Regions from separate parts of the Homo sapiens genome. Here region 1 is linked to region 2. The links are contacts of gene promoters, found by promoter capture Hi-C in human tissues and cell types (Jung and others, 2019). All regions are on one chromosome and are shown on one strand. Each heading gives the region's core, a stretch centred on a gene start or on the middle of the fragment in contact. The rest is flanking DNA. Distances are from core to core; before and after follow the strand shown.

Region 1 (4,725 bases), core at 1,806-4,305, 1.1 Mb after region 2:
CAGCAGTGGCATTACTAGATCATGTGGTATATCTATTTTTAGGTTTTTAAGGAATCTCCATACTGTTTTCCATAATGGCTCTACTAATTTACATTCCCACCAATGATTTGGTTGAGTTTATTCCTCACTCTGAGCAGCATGTTAGCTGGACTTAAACCCCGTCCAGCTTGTCTACATCTGGCCCATCACTTGCCAGTGGGAAAGGCACTTACTTCTTTGTATCTCAGTTTTCTCATCTGTCAAATGGAAATATAACAGTAATTAATTCACATGGCTGTGTAAGGATAAATAAGACAGTACATATAAAAGGCTTTCACCTTTTATAAGAAATAGTGCTTCGATGTTACCCATTATTATTATTTTATTTCATCTTATTTATTTATTTAGATACAAGGTCTCATTTGTTGCCCAGGCTGGAGTGTAGTGGCACAATCATAGTTCAGTGCAGCCTCAAACTCCTGGCCTCAAGTGATCCTCCTCCTTCACCCTTCTCAGTATTTGGGGCCACAGGCGTGCACCACTATGACCATCTAAATTTTTTTTTAGAGATGGGGTCTCAGTATGTTGCCCGGGCTAGTCTTGAACTCCTGGGCTCAAGTGATCCTCCCACCTCAGCCTCCCAAACTGCTGGGATTACAGGCCTGAGCCACCATGCCAGGCCTCATCTCTATATCTTTAGGGTTAGTCACTGGCACCTTAATTTGTTCATTTGGTGATGTCATGTTTCTCTGATTGACCTTGATCCTTATGGCTGTGTGTCAATGTCTGTGCATTGACATAGGTACCTAAGCCAGTCTTCATTGCCTGGCTTTGTTTGGGCTCGTCTTTCATCAGGAAACCCATAGGAGATTAGGGAGAGGCTGATTGGTCAGGACCCTAAGCCCATGACTGCTTCAGCTGTTGTAGTGCTGGGGGGTGCTCTAAGCCCAGCATCACTGTGGTTGGAATTCTTTGGCCACTGAGGCTGACACAGCCCTGGGTTATGCCTGAAGGCCATAGCTGCCGAGACTGGCACAGCACTGGGGCACGCCCAAGACCCACAGCTGTGATGGCGTGCTTGCTGCTGCTGAAGTTATTCAGGGCCCAGGGCCACTGTAGTTGTCAGGTAGTGATGTGGGCCAGATCGCCAGTCCCTGTTACTGGGGCTGTGGGTTCTCATCTGGCACTAGGGTGGGGTGAGATCTGCCTGTGGGTACTGGTCTAGTATCAGGGTGATGAGGCTCTGCCCAGTACTGGGTTTTACTGTAGTGAGCCTAGTCCTGGTGACAGGTGACAGCGTGCTGGCAGCCATCACAGCCCTCGCTCGCTCTCGGTGCCTCCTCGGCCTTGGCGCCCACTCTGGCCACGCTTGAGGAGCCCTTCAGCCCACCGCTGCACTGTGGGAGCCCCTTCCTGGGCTGGCCGAGGCTGGAGTGGGCTCCCTTAGCTTGCGGGGAGGTGTGGAGGGAGAGGCAGGGGCGGGAACTGGGGCTGCACGCGGTGCTTGTGGGCCAGCGCGAGTTCCGAGTGGGCGTGGGCTCGGCGGGCCCGCACTCGGAGCGGCCAGCCGGCCGGCCTGCAAGCCCCAGGCAGTAAGGGGCTTAGCACTTGGGCCAGCAGCTGCTGTGCTCGATTTCTCGCCGGGCCTTAGCTGCCTCCTGGCAGGGCAGGGCTCGGGACCTGTAGCCCGCCATGCCTGAGCCTCCCCACCCCGCAGCCATGGGCTCCTGTGCGGACCAAGCCTCCCCGACCAGCGCCGCTCCCGGCTCCACGCCGCCGAGTCCCACCGACCACCCAAGGGCTGAGGAGTGCGGGCGCACGGCGCGGGACTGGCAGGCAGCTCCACCTGCGGCCCAGGTGTGGGATCCACTGGGTGAAGCCAGCTGGGCTCCTGAGTCTGGTGGGGACTTGGAGAATCTTTATGTCTAGCTAAGGGATTGTAAATATACCAATCGGCACTCTGTATCTAGCTCAAGGTTTGTAAACACACCAATCAGCACCCTGTGTCTAGCTCAGGGTTTGTGAATGCACCAGTCGACCCTCTGAATCTAGCTACTCTGGTGGGGACTTGGAGAACCTTTGTGTCCACACTCTGTATCTAGCTAATCTAGTGGGGACGTGGAGACGTTTTGTGTCTAGCTCAGGGATTGTAAACACACCCATCAGCACCCTGTCAAAACGGACCAATCAGCTCTCTGTAAAACAGACCAATTGGCTGTCTATAAAATGGACCAATCAGCAGGATGTGGGTGGGGCCAGATAAGAGAATAAAAGCAGGCTGCCCGAGCCAGCAGTGGCAACCTGGTCAGGTTTCCTTCCATGCTGTGGAAGCTTTGTTGTTTCATTCTTTGCAGTAAGTCTTGCTACTGCTCACTCTTTGGGTCCACACTGCCTTTATGAACTGTAACACTCACCGCGAAGGTCTGTAGCTTCACTCCTGAAGCCAGCAAGACCACAAACCAACCAGGAGGGACTAACAACTCCAGACGCGCTGCCTTAAGAGCTGTAACACTCACCGTGAAGGTCCGCAGCTTCGCTCCTGAAGCCAGCGACACCACGAACCCACCGGGAGGAACGGACATCTCCAGATGCGCCGTATTAGGAGCTGTAACACTCACCGCGAAGGTCTGCAGCTTCACTCCTGAGCTAGCGAGACCACAAACCCACCAGAAGGAAGAAACTCCGAACACATCCGAACATCAGAAGGAATAAACTGCGGACATGCCCCCTTTAAGAACTGTAACACTCACTGCGAGGGTCCACGGCTTCATTCTTGAAGTCAGTGAGACCAAGCACCCACCAATTCCGGACACACTGGGTTCCAAGGCGAAGTACTCCACTTACCTCTTCTTCCCCCAAGCAAACAGTGTCTCTCTTCACACAGCTGTGCTGGGTTGGGGGAGGGTACACGGGTACCCCTATGGCCACTGAGGCTGAGACAATATTGAGTCACACCCCCAGAATTCATGCCATGAGACCAGCCCAGCACCAGGATGTGCCTAAGGCCGACAGGTAGCTACAGCCTGCCTGCAGCTAAGGTTTATCTGACTGCTGCAGCTGGCCGGCAGTGTTGCGGGCCAGAACACGAGGCTGTTCTGCCAGGGCCGCAGGTCCCCTTGGGTGTTGGGCGGGTTGAGAGGCTTCCCCTGTATGCCAGCCTGGCATCAGGGGCTGAGAGTTCTTGCTTAGTGCTGGCTTTTTACTGAAGTGGGCCTGGTCCTGGGTTGTAAAGCAAAGTCCTATGCGCGCTTCCCTGTCCTTTCCCAAGAGGGCGCTCCCGGTTAGGATTTGGCAGTCGGCTCTGAGGATGAATGGAAACGCCTGGGACCCAGGTTAGGGGATGTGTAGCCTAGCTGTCATTTCCAGCCTAGAGCTCTATGAGTCAGTCTCCCCAAACATTTATCTCCCTCTAAGACCTGCTCTTTGGCATCAGAACGGATTACATGAATACACATTCCTCCTTCTCTAATTCTTGCCTACCCGCATTGTATTTTCACAGAGATTCCATCGTGCCTGGCTCACATAAGCGCTTCCTGGAAGTGAAGTCGTGCTGTCCTGAACGCGGGCCAGGCAGCTGCGGCCTGGGGGTTTTGGAGTGATCACGAATGAGCAAGGCGTTTGGGCTCCTGAGGCAAATCTGTCAGTCCATCCTGGCTGAGTCCTCGCAGTCCCCGGCAGATCTTGAAGAAAAGAAGGAAGAAGACAGCAACATGAAGAGAGAGCAGCCCAGAGAGCGTCCCAGGGCCTGGGACTACCCTCATGGTCATTAGACCCCTCCCGTTTTCCTCTTCTTGACTGCATGTAAATGTTCGGCTCACCCCCTCCGCTCTGAAGCCGCAGAGCTTTGTATTCGACGGCTCATGCTTTCCTGTGCCTGAGTTTCTGCATCTTTTAGATGGGGATACAGCCTGGGCCATAGTGAAACCCTATCTGTAAAAAACAAAAACAAGGTCGGGCGCGGTGGCTCATGCCTGTAATCCCAGCAGTTTGGGAGGCCGTGGCAAGTGGATCATGAGGTCGGGAGTTTAAGACCAGCCTGGCCAAAATGGTGAAACCCCGTCTCTACTAAAAATACAAAAATTAGCTGGGCGCAGTGGCAGGTGCCTGTAATCCCAGCTACTTAGGTGGCTGAGGCAGGAGAATTGCTTGAACCTGGGCGGCAGAGGTTGCAGTGAGCTGAGATCACGCCACTGCACTCCAGCCTGGGTGACAGAGTGAGACTCTGTCTCAAACAAACAAACAAACAAATGGGGGTAATAATAGTACCAAGCACATAGGGTTGTTGGGAGGATTAAATGGGGTCATCTGTGGAAACTGCTTTAAGCCAGTGCTGGGATTCTAGAGGCACTTAGCATTAGTTCCCATCTTTACTGCTACCTTTGTATGGGTCTGTCTGGAAGCAATGTGCTCCTGATAGTCTGGGAGTAGAAATCTGTGCTCACCTGTGACCCCAGGTTGTTACTTTCTTACTGTCCTATCTTGTAAGCCAAAGCCCTTTCCCCAAGAATCCTGAGATTAGTGGTACTTCCCTTGTGGGGTCTGCTGAGCCTAAGGTTGGGTTGGAAAAGAGGAGGTTGGTTGCTAGGGGTCAGACAAATGTTATCTTTTGTTTTTCTCGTATTCTTATAAGTTCCTTCTGCCTTTCAGCCTCTCAGGGTGACACTGGATTAGGTGAATCTTCCCCAAAGTAACCTTCTGATTTATTTCCTGCCTCCCTGTAGTGGGAACTGGGCAGAGACCTCTCCG
Region 2 (4,832 bases), core at 1,982-4,481:
AAAAGAAAGGTAGGCCTCTCATCAGTCCTGGGTATTAAGTTTCTAACATGTGAAATTTGGGGGACACATTTTAGAATGTGTAAAAAAGCCCCTGGGGGCCCAGAGCAGTGGCTCACCCCTGTAATCCCAGCACTTTAGGAGGTTGAGGAGGGCAGATCACAAGGTCAGGAGTTCGAGACCAGCCTGGCCAACATGGTGAAACCCCATCTCTACTAAACATACAAAAATTAGCTGGGCGTGGTGGCATGTGCCTGTAATCCCAGCTATTCAGGAGGCTGAGGCAGGAGAATTGCTTGAACCTGGGAGGCGGAGGTTGCCACTACACTCCAGCCTGGGCGACAGAGCAAGACTCCATCTCAGAAAAAAAATAAATAAAATAAAATAAAATTTAAAAAGCCCCTGGGCACTAGACATAGCAACAGTACCAGATACCATTGTGTAATAGGACTCTGATCACAGGATAGGTATATACACATATCGATATACAGAGATAGATAGATAGATAGATAGATAGACATCTATTTTTTTGCAAGTGAGGTAGGTTCCAAATATTGCCTTACTAAAATTGAAGGAGGACCCAATCAAGTTGTCAGTTGCCAAATCAAAAATATTTGACTGGGCACAGTGGTGCAAACCTGTAATCCCAGCTACTTGGGAGGCTGAGATGAGAGGACCTCTTGAGCCCTGGAGTTTGAGTCTAGCCTGGGCCGTTTAGTGAGACCCTATTTAAAAAAAAAAAAAGGTGACAAGATGGCTATGTGATCTTTGCATATGACTGAAAACGGGTTCAAAGAATTGATGAGACAAATATAATTATTTATGTAAGCAATTTTTTAAGGCTTACATCTAAAATATTTTTAGCCTGGGGTGGTAGCTCGTGCCTGTAATCCTAGTACTTTGGGAAGCTGAGGCAGGAGGATGACTTGAGCCCAGGAATTCAAGACCAGCCTGGGTAACATAGTGAGACCCTGTCTCAATGTTTTAAAAAGAAGAAAAATGGTGGCTCACGCCTGTAATCCTAGCACTTTGGGAGGCCGAGGCGGGCGGATCATGAGGTCAGGAGATCAAGACCATCCTGGCTAACACGGTGAAACCCCGTCTCTACTAAAAATACAAAAAATTAGCCGGGCGTGGTGGCAGGTGCCTGTAGTCCCAGCTACTCGGGAGGCTGAGGCAGGAGAATGGACTGAACCCGGGAGGCGGAGCTTGCAGTGAGCCGAGATCACGCCACTGCACTCCGGCCTGGATGACAGAGCAAGACTCCATCTCAAAAAGAAAAAAAAAAAAAGAAGAAAAATAAAATATTTCTTAAATGCTGAATGTTGCTTTGTTCTATGAATAAGCAATATTTGTTCACAGATACATCAACTAATTAGGAATAAAATGAATTTCAAGTAATTCATGTTTAATTACTTATTAACATGTATTATATTTACATTATTTTTTATCAATTATGTACTAATAATGGCAATGATGAAATGAAGATCTCAGTGTCTTGCACTGGGCAGAGGCCTTTCTCATTCTCTGCCACTTGGGCCCCAGCATGGCTTCCCTAAGAGCTAGGAGCTCAGAGGGAGGGGCTGGGCAAGACAGAAGTCAGGATCTTTTTGTAACTTAATCTTGTAAGTGACATCCCATCATTTTTGTCTTCTTCTATTCATATTCTATTGTTAGAACCAAGCCTCTGGGTCCATCCCACACTCCGCGAGGAGGATTCAGAAGGTCGTGACTCCCAGGGGGTGGGATCCTAGAACACATCTTAGAAGCTGCCTACGACAACCGCTGATTTTTAAGTAACAGTTACATCCTCTACATCTATTTAGACTTAGGATGGAGAATTTTAGATGTCATCTTTAAAATGCATGAGAGGATGCAGTTTTCCAAAATTCTTTTAGAAACAGACAATTTGAAGGCCACTGAGCTTCAGGCTTCATTCAGCTGGGTCGTGTCTGCGGGCGGGGCTCATAGAGATGTCGCTGGGGGTCAGCGGGTGCTTCGGGCAGCGAAAAAACCCACCTCTCGAGGGCAGTGGAAAATACAGGGAAAAGCCACTTGAGTGTAGACTCCGTGCGTGTCAAGGCCAGGCAGAGGCGCACTTGATAGGCAAGGAAAAGCGGACGGTGGTGGTCTTGGGAGGAAGAGAGGAGAGGCGAATGGGCAGGAGCGTGTGGATGCACTAGGGCAGGACGGGCTCGAAGCAGGAACCTAGGATAGAGGCAGCGCGGGCCGGCTTGGGAGGGTCCTCCAGGGTCCGGAGAGGAGAGGACGCAGGCTGCACGCGTGCTAAGAAGGAGACTCATGAAATGTGTAATTCGCTGGCGACAGCTTCCGCGGCCGTGGAGTGAGCCTCTGGGAAGTAACGACTCTCTTAGGTGCGGCTGGGACACAGTCTCACAGACCAGGTAAGTTGCCTGCCCTCCAGGAACTCAAGTGTCCCCGAGTCCGAGCCAGGAGGCTGGAAGTGACTGCTGTCCCATCCTCCCTGGAGCCCGGAGCTGTCCTTGTCTTGAGAAAGAGAAAGCAAAGCCAAGGAAAGCAGAGCGAGCAGAACCAGGCAAAGGGGTGGGGACAATAAAATGGGATATGGCCCGCGCTTCCATCTACTCAGGAGGCAGAGGCAGGAGGATCGCTTGAGCCCGGGAGGCCGAAGCTGCAGTGAGCTGCGGTTGCACCACTGCACTCCAGCCTGGGAGACAGAGGGAGACCCTGTCTAAAAATAAAGTAAAATAAAAAACAAAAATAAAAGGGACAGAGACTAAGAAAACGGACTTCCTGAAATCCCAAGTTGGGATTTCACGTCCAGTGACCCACAAGAGAAGCAAGAAGTCTGAACAGGGCCAAGAATCAAGTGAGTGGGGGCGGAGGATTAAAATCGACAGTTGCTGCGGCACGGCCAGGGTGGAGGGTGCATGTGGGGCAGGCGAGGCTCCAGCTGGAGTTGACGCTAGCCCGACGCGGGTGCAACTGGAGGCGCGACGGGCCAGGCCCAGGAGCAGCGGGAGGAGCGCACCTGGGGCGCGCGGGCGGAGGAGGGCCGGGGAGGGACGCCGGAAGGACTGGGTAGGGACGCCCGGAGGACTGAGCGTAGGGCCGAGAGGAGGGGCGCAAGGAGGAACGGGGGGAGGGCCCTGTCTCACCCTAAACCCCTCCCCGTCCCAGACTAAACTCCTCCCCTCGGCCCGGCCCGCCCCTGGGCCCGGGCTGGAAGCCGGAAGCGAGCAAAGTGGAGCCGACTCGAACTCCACCGCGGAAAAGAAAGCCTCAGAACGTTCGTTCGCTGCGTCCCCAGCCGGGGCCGAGCCCTCCGCGACGCCAGCCGGGCCATGGGGGCCGCACGCAGCCCGCCGTCCGCTGTCCCGGGGCCCCTGCTGGGGCTGCTCCTGCTGCTCCTGGGCGTGCTGGCCCCGGGTGGCGCCTCCCTGCGACTCCTGGACCACCGGGCGCTGGTCTGCTCCCAGCCGGTGAGACTCGACGTGGGGAGCGGTAGCCGCCAGGATGCTGCGGACGCGGGGCAAGGTCGCGGAGGGCCGGACGGTCGGGACTACGCGCCCGGGCTGGGGAGGCAGGAAGTCCGCGCCGCGGGCTTAGAGGGGCTCAGAGCCTTGGGCACAGATATCGCGGCGCCTGGGGAGGACCCTCGGAGCGGTGGGAGTTGCGGTGTGGAATACGGGGGGGGTGGGTGGCACATCGCGCGGCGCGTGTTGCACAACCTGGCCCGCCGTCGTGACTGGAGGCGGGAGTGACACCTCCGCCCGGGCCGCGGAGTTCGGGGAAGGAGGGCGCGGCGCTGGGCCAGGCCGGAGGGGCGGCCAGGGCTGATAGAAAGGGGCTGTGGAGAAGGGGCCCGGGGAGGAGCCAGGACGGGTCTGGACCCAGCTCCACGCCTTGCGCCCCTCACGTACCCCGGCGGGGCACGGTCGGCCCTCGGGAGGCCCATCGCGCCCTCGGGAGCTTCCCTCAAGCCGTGCCCTTCATGCCGCCGACGGAGCCGGGCGAGCCCACGTCGTCCGTGCGGAAGGTGGAGTCCCTCACCCGCGGCCCCCAGAGGGACCCCGCTGTCGTAGAGCCACGCGGGGGCCGGAGCGCTGAGACGCGGCACCATGTTTCGGGGAGAGCTCTGCCGAGGGCGGCTGAGGGCCACCTCCCCAGAGGCGCGAAGCCCTGAGGATGGGCAGATGGTTCTTAAGACGGCGCCCTTCCCGCCACTCCCACCCCCGACTACCACCACCTGGGTCTGGGAACCCGGTGAGAGCGCAGTCGGAGGGTCGAACGTTTGTAGCTGTCAAGTCGTAGCCCCGCTGCGCCCACAGGAAGTGACCCACCCGCCTGCCGGGTAGTGGCCTTTCTGTGAGCCAGGACCATCTTAAGGAAAAAAACAAAAAAAGAGCAAAACGCCGTGCCCCTCCACAATATACTCTCCTCTTCCCCGCATCCCCGAGGGGATCTTTCCTCCCCTCCACCTCCACCTCCACCTCCACCGCTGACCCCAAGGAATAATGCTCAGTATCTGAGTCAGAGGATGTAAAACAAAGGGATATTTCTCCTTATGTAGTTTTATGGAGGATTTACCGAAAGAAGGTGGAGGGTGAGTGACTATGTCGCAGAAAAAAAAAAAAAGATGTTTTTATCGTGAATGATGTTGAGAAATGTCCTGTGACTTCCACTATTGGGCAAAGCAGGTCCCTCTGCCCTGCTAGTCCCTCCTGCAGGCTGTGTATGAAGCGTTCTGATATGGAGGGTTGGTGCGCCTGGGTTGACAGCCATTGGTCAGGTGCCTGCAGAGTACAGGGCGCCATACTGGGAACTGGAACTATAAATAAATACTCTGGGGA

The links. The method cuts DNA at HindIII sites, captures the fragments that hold promoters and counts their contacts. A contact is called where the count stands out against the background at its distance.
Region 1: a fragment that was not itself captured here is called in contact with the fragment with the promoter of IL17RA in region 2 in 1 of the 25 tissues and cell types used here (lymphoblastoid cells).

The regions. Positions count from the first base shown.
Region 1 is chr22:18,154,080-18,158,804 of GRCh38, forward strand. It overlaps USP18 (ubiquitin specific peptidase 18), which reads left to right. Exons shown (of 11, transcript NM_017414.4): 2 at 3,479-3,741. The coding sequence starts at 3,585. Among named protein-coding and RNA genes, the nearest start is that of USP18, 6.3 kb to the left of the region's middle. RefSeq lists an enhancer at 1,243-1,744. The HindIII fragment of the contact is 4,107 bases long and covers 1,003-4,725 here.
Region 2 is chr22:17,081,769-17,086,600 of GRCh38, forward strand. IL17RA (interleukin 17 receptor A) reads left to right here and starts at 3,232. Exons shown (of 13, transcript NM_014339.7): 1 at 3,232-3,461. The coding sequence starts at 3,324. RefSeq lists an enhancer at 2,292-2,461 and silencers at 3,015-3,234, 3,255-3,374, 3,625-3,724, 3,765-4,014. The HindIII fragment of the contact is 17,220 bases long and covers 1-4,832 here.